Regions from separate parts of the Homo sapiens genome. Here regions 1, 2 and 4 are each linked to region 3. The links are contacts of gene promoters, found by promoter capture Hi-C in blood cells and fetal thymus (Javierre and others, 2016). All regions are on one chromosome and are shown on one strand. The core of a region is centred on a gene start or on the middle of the fragment in contact, and the rest is flanking DNA. Distances in the headings are between cores, read along the strand shown.

Region 1 (3,424 bases), core at 22-2,521, 200 kb after region 3:
CTGGAACCTCTCCCCCAGAGATGGCTCTCAACAGGGTCCCAGGCCATTCAGGAAGGGTCCTGTCCCCATGAGTCAGCCACTGCAAAAAGGCACTCACCTAAAACTGTTTCCGTCCCTGTGGGCTCGGCGGGGCGGGGCTGAAGTCCTAACTCACCACCTCCTACGGCGTCCACACCCTTGCTGTGGCCTTGTCATGGGCAATGGGTACTTCCCTGCTCCTTGACTTTGAGGTTGTCCATGGGATTTGCTTTGGCCAATGGCACATAAGCAAAAGTGACCACCTGCCAGGTGCCAAGAAGCCTTGTATGTTCTGCTCTGAAAGAAGCATGTCCCAGCTGAGCCACTCATGCAAGGAGGATGAGAGACTCGTGGAGCTGCACTGCCCCACTGAGCCACAGACCAGCAGGGAAAAGTGGAGCTGCCTGAGCTGCCCCAGCCAGAAGCCCGCACCAGCCAAGCTCCAACCAATCCACAAAATCATGAGAACAAATCACCATTGTTCTAAGCCACTGAGTTTGGGGACCATTTGTTACATGACACTATTGTCCAGTAGCTAACTGATACATCCCATCACCTGAGAAATGTGTGATCAGGACCACATGAGGGGCACAACACCATGACAACCATTCAGAGGAGGGGGAGATCAATGTGGAAGAATCAAGAAGCTTCCTGAGCCACACACAGTGGCTCACGCCTGTAATCCCAACACTTTGGGAAGCCAAGGCAGGCAGATCACTTGAGCCCAGGAGTTCAAGACCAGCCTGGGCAACATAGTGAGACCCCAACTTTACAAAAAAAAAAATACTAAAAATTAGCCAGGCATGGTGGTGCATGCCTATAGTCCCAGCTACTCAGGAGGCTGAGATGGGAGGATCGCTTGAGCCCAGGAGCTCGAGGCTACAGTGAGCCGAGATTGCACCATTGCACTCCAGCCTGGGCAACAGAGCAAGACCCCATCTCGAAAAATTTTTTTAAAATTTAAAACAGGAGGCCTCCTGTTGCATGTCAGGTGCTGTGTAAGAGGCTCGTGCTTATTTGCATCAGCATCCCTGTGGTTAAGTGCCACTGCACTGGCCCCACTGAGGCTCCTTATCCCTACACGGCAGCTGGAGCTCAGCCGTCCTCGCCCAGTACCCAGGCACTCTCCGTCCAGCTGACTGCACCCTGCCCCTCCCTCCTGGCCCAGGCCTCTCCTCTGCACACCTGCCTGGCCCTTTCCAGCACTGCAGTTTGAGACCCCTGCTCTTCAGGGTCCCCGAGTCTCCCCAGCTCTGCGGGGAGTGGCTGTCTGTCCCTTTCAGGGAGGACGGTTTTGGTGCTGGAGAATTCACAGCTTCCCAAGGCTGTCCACCCACATTCCAGAGAGACAGGATCACTGAAACCATGGAACAGGTGAAATTGCCGAGGAAGCCCCTGGAGGCAAAAGAGCCAAGGACAGAACCTACGGGGAGACATCAAGGGGAGGAAGTGAGCCCCAGCCCCCAGGAGAGAGAGAAAACGTCTCAGAGGCCATGAAGAGGCCGTTTCCAGATGCTGCCGAGGGAGCAGAAGAGGAGCCTCCCCCCAGCGCTGGGCAGCGAGAGGGCGACGTGACCTTTGAGAATTCTGCTTCCCCAGCACAACCGGGCGAGAAGCTGGCTCCAAAGGGCTTTCTTCAAAGACTAGTACAAGCCCCTGAGGGCTCCGCTGATTGGACACGTTTCCCAGCCTGGTCCAAGGCCGCTGATGGTGTGCGCCCTCCCAGACAATACCAAAAGCATGGTCTCCATTCTCTCCAGAAAAATTGGGCTAAAATTGTACTGTTTCCTCTTTTTTCCCCTAGGTCACTGTATTCTGCTTCACTCCACATTCTTCTGTACAAAAGAGACCAAAGCTTATGAATAGGGTTGGGAGATGTCCCAAGGAAAAAAAAATTCAAAGCGCTTTGGTTTCTCTAGCTGTGGAATGGTCGCCCCTGGCTACCTGGGTCCATCAGTTCTTTTCTGGGAAAGTCCCAGGGGAATTGGCCAAAATCCTGCTCAGACCCATCCAGTCCCACCTCTGCCCCAGATACCAGAGTCCCTGGGGCAGCGGGGACATCAGTGGACTCATATTGCCCAATCCAGCTACTGTGCAGAGCCAGATTTGTGTTCCAGAAGTTGTTAAAATATCCTCAGAAAACAACAAAGGTGGCCGGGGGCATGGTGGCTCACGCCTGTAATCCCAGCACTTTGGGAGGCCGAAAGGGTGGATCACTTGAGGCCAGGAGTTCCAGACCAGCCTGGCCAACATGGTGAAACCCCGTCTCTACTAAAAATACAAAAATTAGCTGGGCATGGTGGCACGTGCCTATAGTCCCAGCTACTTGGGAGACTGAGGCAAGAGAATTGCTTGAACCCAGGAGGCAGAGGTTGCAGTGAGCCTAGATCACACCACTGCACTCCAGCCTGGGTGACACAGTGAGACTCCCTCTCAAAAAAAAAAAAAAAAAAAAAAAGAAGAGGCTGGGTGTGGTGGCTCATGACTGTAATCCCAGCACTTTGGGAGGCCCAGGCAGGCAGATCACTTGAGGCCAGGAGTTCTAGACCAGCCTGGCCAACATGGTGAACCCCATCTCTACTAAAAATACAAAAATTAGCCGGGTGTGGTGGCGGGCACCTGTAATCCCAGCTACTCGGGAGAGTGAGGCAGGAGAATTGCTTGAACCCAGGAGGCAGAGGTTGCAGTGAGCCGAGATCGCACCACTGCACTCCAGCCTGGGCAAGAGAGCGAGGCTCCGTCTCAAAGAAAAAAAAAAAGAAAGAAAGAAAAAAGAAAAAAAGAAAACCACAAAGGAACTCCCATGTTGAGAAATTGCCCCTTCATAGCCTGTGGGTGTCCCTGGCCTCCCGCCTCTCGCTGTCTCCTCTCTCCTCTCTTTCCTCTCTTCTCTTTCCCATCCTTCTAACTTTATATCACAAAAGGGCAAAAACAGGGCTCATCTCTAAGGGCAGGGGAGACTGAGAAATGGACCCTTTTGGGGCAGCATCCCCTCGGGAGGCAGGAGGAAGGGGAAGGTCCACCCGGCAACACTCACAGGCTAGAGAATTTTGCTCTTTGACAAAAACAGCTCTGCTTGCTCCACAGTGGCCGGGGGCTGAAGGTCCTCACCTGGCATTTGTGTTGCCTTCTGTCAATCACCCCAGGGCCAGGGTGCAGCATTTAGGATGCTCTCAAGAATGCGGAAAAAATGTAACCAAAAAGTCCAGAGGTGAGGCATGATCAGGCATGTCATCCGCAGCCATGCTCTTTCTGTCTCTCTGCACTGTCCTCCTGCCGTCAGCCCTCTGTGGTTGTGCGGTGGCCACCAGCAGCAGCTGGCTGCCTGGCTCCTTTATCACAATTAGTGGGAGAGGGTCAGTGGTGTGTAGGTAAGCCAGCTCTCTGGGGTGGGGACGGGTGTGAG
Region 2 (3,261 bases), core at 463-2,962, 140 kb after region 3:
CAGAGGCAGACATAGACAGAGATGGAGACGCAGACACAGACATAGACATACACACAGATCTCCCATGTTGGTTCTGTTTCTCTGGAGAACTGTAATGTGATGGGGAAGGTCCATTAAGCCCCTGAAAATTGCATGCAACATTTCACCTGCATGTACACTCTGTGTCTTCTACTGTCCAATAGCTTCCATCAGGTCTTCAAAGGGCTCACAATCTTCCATATAAAAGGAAGTAATTCACATTGGAGAGGGTCAAGAAAAATGTCCCATCATGTGTTGGCCAGTATTGATCTCTAGGCAGAGAAATTAGAATGTTATTTGATATATTTGGTTTTTAGTTATTTATTCATTTATTCAACTAAAATGTAGTGACCACTAAAACATGCCTGGCTCTGTGGTGTTCACTGCAATTGAGACTATGAGCTCTGGTGTCAGACTGCCTGGGTTCAAATCCTGGCACTGACATTTACTGGCTGTGTGATCTTAGGCGAGTTGCTTAGCCTTTCTGTGCCTAGGGTTCCTCATTTGTAAAATGGGTTTATTAAAACTTTCTCCAAGGGTTGTTGGAAAAATGTAAAGTACTTGAAACAATGTCTGGCGCAGAGTAAGTACTCAATAAATATCAGCCAGGCTTCATTAATTTAATTCATCAAGTAAAAATGTACTGAGCACCTGGTATATGACAGGCACTGTTCCAGGTGCTTGGGATATGCCTGTGAAGAAAATGGTAAAAATCTCTATGCCCGTGCAGCTGACGTAGACATAGACACAGACATAGACACAGTCCAATCGGGGAGACAGGAATAGAAAATAACCATAATCCAGAAGTAAATTACCTAGCTTGCAGGAAGGTGGTAAATGCTATAGGAATAAGACTAAGCAGAGTAACCGGGAGGGGGATCAGGAGTGGTCGGAAGTGCAATTACAAGTGGGGCGGTCAAGGTCAGTGTCGTCAAGAAGGTCGTGTATGAGTAAAGACTCAGTGGTGAGGGAGTCAGCCATACAGATTCTGGGAATATGCATTCCAGCAGAGGAAAGAGCCAGTGCAAAGGTCGCAAGGTGGGAGGTGTGGTCGATGAAAAGCAGGAGGACAGATGGGAGGTGGCAGAGTCATGGGTAGTAGGAGGAGACGAGGTTAGCATTCCACACCCCAGTGCACTGGACAGATAGCAAAACGGAAACAAAGATAGAATTGACTTTTTCCCTTTTTATATGTTTTCCAAATTTTCTTTAATAGGCATTTTTAAGCTGGGCAAGGTGGCTCACTCCTATAATCCCAATACTTTCAGAGGCTGAAGCGAGAGGATCGCTTGAGGTCAGGAGTTCAAGACCAGCCTGGGCAACAGAGGGAGACCCCTGTCTCTACAAAAAAGTTTAAAAATTAGCCAGTCATAGTGGAGCATGTCTGTGGTCCCAGCTATTTGTGAGGCTGAGGTGGGAGGATGGCTTGAGCCTGGGAGTTTGAGGCTGCAGTGAACCAAGATTTTGCCCCGGTACTCCAGCCTGGGTGACAGAGTAAGACCCTGTTTCAAAAAAGAAAAAAAATTTATATATATATATGTCAAAGCTTGGTACGGAAATCTTTTTGCAATAAAAGAAGTTTTGGAGTTGTGGAACAAAACTTTCAATATCCTCTAATATCGTCCTTCACTTTAGCCTTTTCAGGAATTTAGGATCTGGGACACAGGGCATTATGTGGTGGGGGCTCCTGAGCAGCACAGGCTTCTGTCCTCTCTCCCTTACCCACAAGCAGGCCCAGCCGGCCCCGGGAGCCTTTAGGGCAAGGGTCCCCAGCCCCTGGGCCACAGACTGGTACCAGGCCACACAGCAGGAGACGAGCGGCTGGGGAGCTAGTGAAGCTTCATCTGTTCTTACGGCCGCTTCCCCGTTGCTCACGTGACCACCAGAGCGCCACTCAGGTCAGATTAGTGCCGGCGTTAGATTCTCACAGGAGCACGAACTCTGCTGTGAACCCCGCATGCAAGGGATCTAGGCTGTGCGCTCTTTATGAGAACCTGATGCCTGATGATCTGTCGCCGCCGTCGCATTGCAGGAAAACAAGGTCAGGGCTCCTACTGATTCTACATTATGGTGAGGGGTATAATTACTTCCTTATATATTACAACGTAATAATAATAGAAATAAAGTGCACAATAAATGAAATGCCCTTGAATCATCCTGAAACCACCCCCACCCCCATCCCCCACCATCTGGAAAATTTGCCTTCCTCCAAACCAGTCCCTGGTGCTAGAAATGTTGGGGAGCGCCGCTTTAAGAGCCTCACAAGAGATCAGTCTTGAAGACGCAGTTGGGGTCACGTGACCCGAGTCCGCCCATCACAGGGCTGGCCCCGGGTGCCATTTTGAGAGCGTGCTCCTTCCTTAACTCCTCCTGGTGGGGCTAGAATTTGGTGGATTGGGTGTTTATTTGATGAGGTCGCAGCATTTGGGTCTAATTTAAAACTTAGGATGTTCTTTAAATGTTTCATTTCTTCTTTGGTTCATTTCCATGATGCTATGCCACCAAAGGGGAGCCTCTAAGGGATTTTCCTTCCAAAATGTTGTATTTTGCTGGAATTTTGCAATTTCTTTGTTAAAGAATCCACCCACTCTTCCATTGCTCTGCATTCTTTCTGAAAGGACGTATACCTTGTGCGTCCAGTGAGACCTGAATCATTGTTAAAGTTGGCCAGAGACCAACAGCCTCAGGGGTGAGTATAGCTTGGGCACCCGCCCCCCCACCCAAAGCTCTGAAGACAGAGTGGGAGCTTCTTGTGGCCGCCCCCACCCCAACCGTCCTTCCTTTGTGGCGTCCTTCTGGTTTATTCTTCCACACACAGCACTTGTTCTTTCCTGTGACTGTTGGGACACTCGTAACCGTTTATTTCCTTGTTTATTATCTCTCTCCCCCACACACCCAGGCTGTACACTCTAGGAGGGCAGGACCCCATCCTCTGCTCCCCACACTGTGCACCGTGCCAGGCCTTTGCTATGGGTGTGTTTTATGAACAAATAAAGCGCATCTTCTCTCACTGGGGAAAGGTGAGGAAGCGATTCTTCCGCCTTTAATGGGGCCCTTCTCAGCCTTTCTCCCTTCACATTCTTCTTCAGCGAGCTGGGGAGACACCTGACCATAGACGGGGCTAAGATTCCCCATTCCAGGAGCTACTAAAGCCATCCCCAGGGTCGTGTTTGAAGAAAAAGCCAATGAGGACTGTTCTTTCCAAGGCTGTGGCCCACAGGGGTGGTGAGGCCAGCAGGCAGT
Region 3 (3,178 bases), core at 131-2,630:
GTGGAACCATAAATTTTCTGCCTGCTCAGAGCTGTGTCAGTCTATATTCCAGATCCAGGGGCCCAAGAACGTGATAGAGAGGGCAGGAGGACGTGGCCTCTGGGGGCCCCAGCCCTGCTCCTGGCATGCAGTCTCTCCTCCAGCACTGCATGGCTCGGGGCCCTGCACCACCGGAAGCCTCCTCTGGGTGCCTCTGAGGACCGCTTTCTTCACTTCTAAAGACCTGGGGGCCAAATCCAGCTCTGGCATGTAGTAGGGATGGAGGACTGGCAGCAGCATTGGGGAGATGTCCTGGGTCCTGACTGCATCCTGGAGCTGGGGGTGGCACATGGGGCTCGTGGTGACAGTTTTTGCTCCCAAATGGAGTTTAGAATCAATAAATAGGAGCCAGCTCTCTCCAGCCCCTCCCAGCCTCCTCTCTCCCAGCCCTCCCCTTTCTCACTTCACCCGCCCCTGCCTCCTGTCCTTTCCTTACCCAGCCCTCCTCCTCACTCCGCTGCACTGTTTCTTCAGCTCCCCCAGGTGCCCTCTCCACCTCTCTCCTCCTTTCCCTCCTCCTCTACCCTCTGCCTTCCCACCCTCTCCCCTGTCCGAGCAGGTTGGTGCATACGACCCGGTGACGGGAAAGGAGTCTCTCTGTGCTTACCTCTGGGGCCACAGGTGCTTTCCAGAGCGTCCAAAAGTTTGGGGGACAGAACCCAATTGGAGGGCATCCTGAAGGAGAAGTGGTTTCCTCAGCTTGACATACGTGGCCCAGGAAGGGTTTTGTCCTAAATGGGACACTCAGTGGGCAGGTGTCCTCTAGACCCCCCATGGAGGGAGAGGTTGGGGCTGGGGGAGGGGCAGTGGTAGTGGAGAGGAAGGATTGGAGGAGTCCAGGAGAGGCTTGTGCAGGGGGCTGGGGGAGCAGCTTTTTGGGGAGGTGGTGGGGAGTTGTACGTGTGTGGCATGTCTTATTCCTGAGTACCTCGAAGGCTCTGGGTGCACTGTATGCTGTGGACCCTATTTTGGAGGGTGAGCTTGGGGAGCAGGGGTGTCTGTGTGTATGTTGGCCATTCATGTCCTGTGATCAAACGTGTGTGTGCACGGATGTATGCCCTGTGAGCATGTGTATATGCTCCCCTGAGAGTAAGTTGGTGTGCCAGTGTCTGTGAGCACATGCATGCATGTATGTGTCTGAGCCTGTGTGCCTACCCGCACACTGTGCCCATATGGGCACGTGGATGTTTCCATACCCAAGCCGATACACATCTCAGTGTGCACGTGCGTTGCGAGGGGTGGTGCAGAGGTGGCCGCCGCGGCATCTCAGCAGGCTGTGCCAGAGAGCATTATTGGGGTTCATCCGGGTGGGGTGGGCGGGGAGGAAGAAAGTGGCCTCTCTTGCTAGCCTCAATCCCGTTCCATTATTCAGCAGGGTCCCTTCTCCAGGAGGGGGGTGCAGGAGGAGCGCGCGCGTCCAGGCGCGGGGGAGGGGCGGGCGCGCGCAGAGGAGAGGAGAGCGCCGAGCGGGCTAGCCAGGTGCCGCGCGGCTGAGCTGCCCAGCGCCGCCCGCAGATCGGGAGCCGCTCTGGTCCCTCCGCCCTGCCCCCTCCTCCTCCCGCGCTTCCCCTCCCCTCTCCGCTCTCCTCCTTCCCTCCCTCCCTCCCTCTCTCCCTCTCTCCCTCTCTCCCTCCCTCCCTCTCCCTTCCAGCCCTCTCAGCCTCTGCAGCAACACTTCGCTGCCTCCATCTCTCCGCCGGAATCTCGCAGGCTCGCGCCTTTCCTCGGCTCAGCCCCGCTCCCCTCCTCTCCTATCCCCTCCTCTCCTATCCCTTCATTCCCCCCTCACCCGGATTTGCTTCCCTTCCCCCTTCTCCCGCCCCCCCCTCCCCCGGCCGCTCCCTCCTTTCCCCCGGCCTCCGTCGGGCGGCAGCGGCAGCAGCGGCGCGGCCGGCCCCAGTCGCCGTCGGTCTCCCGCCTTCGGGGGAACCAGGTCTCCGTCCCTCTTCTCTCCTCCAGCCCGCACCGCCCCGCTCCCCAGCTCGGTTTTTCCGCAGGATTTCCCTCGCTCTCCCCTCCCTGCTTGGCCCCCGCGCTCCCCTCCCTCTCCACTCGGCACCATGCCCCCTCCCCCGGGCGCTCCCCCGGGTTTCTGACGGCCCTCTGCGCCGCTCCGACCCCGCCGGGATGCAGAGAGACCCCTAGCTCCTCGCGATGGACCCAGGCATCCTGGACCTTGGCGTTGCCGCTCCGCGGACCCCCGATTTCCCGGCGGGATCCAGTTGATTTTGTTGGCTCCGGACCGAGGCTTGGGCCCTGGTTTACCTCCGCTTCATCCCTACCCCGCTCCCGGAGCTCGGAGCCGGAGGGGGGCTTCGCGGGGCTGCGCAGCCCCGCGTCCCCGCCCCCGGCCATGGGGCTGTGAGGCGGTCGCCCCCGGGCCGAAATGCCCCCCGGGGGGAGCGGGCCGGGGGGGTGCCCGCGCCGCCCCCCGGCCCTGGCTGGGCCCCTGCCGCCGCCTCCACCGCCGCCGCCGCCACCTCTGCTGCCGCTGTTGCCGCTGTTGCTGCTGTTGCTGCTGGGGGCGGCCGAGGGGGCCCGGGTCTCCTCCAGCCTCAGCACCACCCACCACGTCCACCACTTCCACAGCAAGCACGGCACCGTGCCCATCGCCATCAACCGCATGCCCTTCCTCACCCGCGGCGGCCACGGTAAGTGGCACTGTAGATGCCGGCCACCCGGTTGGCCCGGGGGCGGGGGGCGCTTCCCGTGTGCGCAGCTGGGCCCCCGCGGGCCCCACCCCAGCTGTGCACGCCGAGCCTGGCCCCTCTGCTTTGCGTCCCGGAGCCCCTTCACCTCCAATCTCCAGCTCCCATCATCTCAGCCCCACCCTTGCCTCCATCTCTCCTCTCCCCCATCACCCTCATCTCTGTCTTCAGCACTTTGCTTCCTGGCCTCACCTAAACCTGCTTACCCCTAGGTCTGGTTCATTATCTCCTTCTACTTCCTTACCCTCCCCGCCCTGTCTGTCCTTTCATCCTCTCCGTGCAGCTCTGCCTTCCATTTCTCTTGCGCATCACCTTCTCCATCTCGGCCCCTTATCATCTCTCCATCTGTCTTGCCTCCACCTCTGCCTCACCCTCACCCTTCCATCGCTGGTCTGTCATCTCTCCCCCTTCACCTCTCTCCCACCTCTGTC
Region 4 (3,350 bases), core at 736-3,235, 180 kb after region 3:
CATCAGCCAAGAATGTGTTTTCTTATTGTTCTTGACCACAAAGTAAACTGGACACCAGAACCCTGTCCCCAAGAGACAGAGTGTGGGTTGCAGTTCCCCAGCCCTGTGTAAGCGAGCACACGAGTCCATCGCACTGTGGCTTGCAGCCCTGGGGGTGTCTTTGTGACAAGGTATGCTTCATTCTCCCGCATCATCAACTTCTTTGGTAACCAAGATGATCATTTGGTCTCCCGGATTCCCTTTTTGTCTTATTCCTCAAATGATATACAAATCCCATAAAAAGAAAGACAATATTTATCGGGGTCTCTAAAACCCCTAACAGTCTGCAGGGCCGAAAGCTAATGCCTCCAAAAGAACAACAAAATGAACAAACTTCTAGCAAGTCCAATCACCTCAAAGGATGAAGGCATGAACAAAAACAATGTTCCTCGGAAGAGATCCTAACTAGTCATACCACAGGAATGTTAAAAATCATTAGAGAAGATGATGAACAACTTTATGCTAATAAATATTAAACCTTGAATGAAATTGTAAGCAAAGTTTTCAAATAATATAAAAGACAGACCCTACTTATTTTAGGAAGATGGCATCACTAATATGTCAGTTGGACATAGATGGCATGAAAAAGAAAATTATAAGCCAATCCCCCTTTTAAACAGAGATATAAAAATCCTAAATAAATACAAGCAAAACAAATTAAGCAGTGCATTTTAAACATATATACATCATAACCAAATTGGCATTATCCTAGGCACGCAATGGTCAATTTTAGAAAAATATGTTACATAGAATTTGCCACATTAACAGATTAAGAAGAGAAAACATCACCATCTCAATAGATGCAGAGAACCATGTAATAAAATTCAGGCTGGATGCAGTGGCTTATGCCTGTAATCACAGCACTTTGGAAGGCCAAGGTGGGAGGATCACTTGAGGTCAGGAGTTCGAGACTAGCCTGGGCAACATGGCGAAACCCCATCTCTACCAAAAATACAAAAAATAAGCTGGGCGTAGTGTGTGCGCCTATAGTCCCAGCTATTCAGGAGGCTGAGGTGGGAGGATCCCTTGAGCCTAGGAGGAGGCTTCAGTGAGCCAAGATTGTGCCACTGCATTCCAGCCTAGGTGACAGACTGAGGCCCTGTCTCAAAATAAATAAATAAATAAAATAAAATTCAACTCCTATACATGATACAAACTAAAAATAGAAAGGATTTCCCTTAGTTTGATCAAAGACATCTATCAGAAACTCATAGCAGATAAGATTATTCATGTTAAAACATTAGAAGCATTACCATGAAAATTCAGGAATAAAATAAGGGTGCCAGCAACCACTCCTGTATTCAACATTGTACTGGAGGTCCTAGCCAATTCAGTAAGACAAGAAAAAGGAACAGTGTAATAATAGTGAGGTAGGAGGCAGAACTCCACTCCAGAGGCAGGGATCGGACATCAGGCCAAACTGAGGACTGGTTAAAACAGAGACCTGGCAGAAGCAGCTTTCCAGCAGACACTCCCACCAGTGTCCGTGTCAGCTTACTGTTGCCATGGTGACACCTGGGCATCACCGCTCTTTTCCATGGCAATGACCTGACAACCCAAAAGTTACTATCCTTTCCCTAGAAATTTCTGCATAAACTGCCCCTTAATCTGCATGCAATTAAAAGTAGGTAAGGGCCTGGCATGGTGGCTCATGCCTGTAATCCCAGCACTTTGGGAGGCCAAGGCGGGTGGATCACCTGAGGTCAGGGGTTCGAGACCAGCCTGGCCAACATGGTGAAACCCTGTCTCTACTGAAACTACAAAAATTAGCCAGGTGTGTAGTCCCAGCTATCTGGGAGGCTGAGGTAGGAGAATCACTTGAACCAAGGAGGTGGAGGTTGCAGTGAGCTGAGATGGCACCGCTGCACTTCAGCCTGGGCAACAGAGTGAGACTCGGTCTCAAAAAAAAAAAAAAAGCAGGCATGAATATGACTCCAGTCCTGCCCTGCCCTGCCCTGCCCTGCCCTGAGCTGCTACTCTTAGCACACTGCCTATGGGGTAGCCCTGCTTAGCAGGAGCAGTCACAGAACTGAAACTCCACCAGAGCTCTAACACTGCTGTTTCAATAAAGCTGTTTTCTTCCAACCTACCACTGGCTCACCTTTGAATTCTTTCCTGGGCAAAGCCAAGAACCCTTATGGGCTAAGCCCCAGTTTGGGGCTCACCTGTCCTGCATCAATAGGAAAGAAAAAAGCAACATATTGTGATTCTTTGCTGATAATAATATGATTGTTGACATAGAAAATCCAAGAGCTTCCACAAACTCTGAAAAGTGATAAAGGTTTGGCAGGGTTGCTGGATATAAGATTAATGTACATTATAAAAGATCAAGAATACTTCTATGCCCAGCAATAATTGACTAGAAAACATGTTATAAGAAGGCATCACTTACAATAGCAGCAAAAACAATGGGAACTGAGATTTCAAGAGAGGGAGTGATGTGTAGGATCTTTATGGAGGAAAGCATAAAATATTGCTGCAGAACACAGAAGTCATGAATAAATAAAGATCTATAGCGTGTTCATGGATAGAAAGACTCAACACCATAAACAAAACGATGCTTCCTAGATTAATCTATAAAGTTAACACAAGGCCAATCAAATTCTGAATGGGGCTTTTCAGGGAACTCGATAATATAATCCTAAAATGCAAATGCAAAATAAAGGGCCAAGAATAGCCAAAACAATTTCAAACAAGAGCAACAAGTCAAGGTATGAGGAGGGATTTCCCCTACCAGGTATCAAGACTTATAAAGCTGTGATCATTTAAACAATGTGATAGCAACACAGGATAGACAGATACACCCAGAATACTGAACCCCAGAAATCTGATTTAATAAAATCAGTAAGAAAGTGGATGGATAAAAAAAATCCTGTTTGGTCCATTGGTTGTCCATTTGGAACGAAATTAATGTAGGTTCCAGCCTCACACTATAGCAGACACCGGGGTGCCTAGGCCACTCTCCCTTCAATCCCCTGACCCAGTGCATATAAAGGTGTCCCCTGTGAACACCCATGGCCCTCTGAGACCCCAGGGCTTCCACTGACCTTGCAAGAACAGTAGCTGGAAGAACCAGGGAGTCATCGTCCCAGGAGTAGGGTCTGGTAGTGCTGGTGGTAATGGGCAGAGGCTGAAGGATAATACCACAGCTTCCTGGCCCCTCCAGAGGGACAGTTGTGGGGTATGTCTTACACCACCTCCCCACCATTCCCAGTGGCACCTGCTCATCAGTGCACCCTTCCTAGGACTTGCCTTCCCCTCTTCCACCCAAATCCTTGTCTCAGGATCAACCCCTGGGGAAACCCACCATA

Evidence for each region. The method cuts DNA at HindIII sites, captures the fragments that hold promoters and counts their contacts. A CHiCAGO score of 5 or more calls a contact.
Region 1: a contact is called between a fragment that was not itself captured here and the fragment with the promoter of NRXN2-AS1 in region 3, in 1 of 17 cell types (M1 macrophages). The highest score is 5.2, in M1 macrophages.
Region 2: a fragment that was not itself captured here is called in contact with the fragment with the promoter of NRXN2-AS1 in region 3 in 5 of 17 cell types (M1 macrophages, megakaryocytes, M0 macrophages and 2 more); the score reaches 8.6 in M1 macrophages.
Region 4: a fragment that was not itself captured here is called in contact with the fragment with the promoter of NRXN2-AS1 in region 3 in 2 of 17 cell types (megakaryocytes and M2 macrophages); the score reaches 5.7 in megakaryocytes.

The regions. Positions count from the first base shown.
Region 1 is chr11:64,437,380-64,440,803 of GRCh38, reverse strand. No RefSeq gene overlaps it. Among named protein-coding and RNA genes, the nearest start is that of LINC02724, 10 kb to the left of the region's middle. RefSeq lists enhancers at 1-263, 796-1,327. The HindIII fragment of the contact is 1,208 bases long and covers 668-1,875 here.
Region 2 is chr11:64,499,467-64,502,727 of GRCh38, reverse strand. LOC124902690 (a long non-coding RNA gene) reads left to right here and starts at 1,834. Exons shown (of 2, transcript XR_007062721.1): 1 at 1,834-2,707. The HindIII fragment of the contact is 292 bases long and covers 1,567-1,858 here.
Region 3 is chr11:64,642,051-64,645,228 of GRCh38, reverse strand. NRXN2-AS1 (NRXN2 antisense RNA 1) reads right to left here and starts at 1,380. Exons shown (of 3, transcript XR_001748259.3): 1 at 647-1,380. The region is part of intron 17 of NRXN2 (neurexin 2); the gene reads left to right. The HindIII fragment of the contact is 13,173 bases long and covers 1-3,178 here.
Region 4 is chr11:64,461,006-64,464,355 of GRCh38, reverse strand. No RefSeq gene overlaps it. Among named protein-coding and RNA genes, the nearest start is that of LINC02724, 14 kb to the right of the region's middle. The HindIII fragment of the contact is 6,738 bases long and covers 1-3,350 here.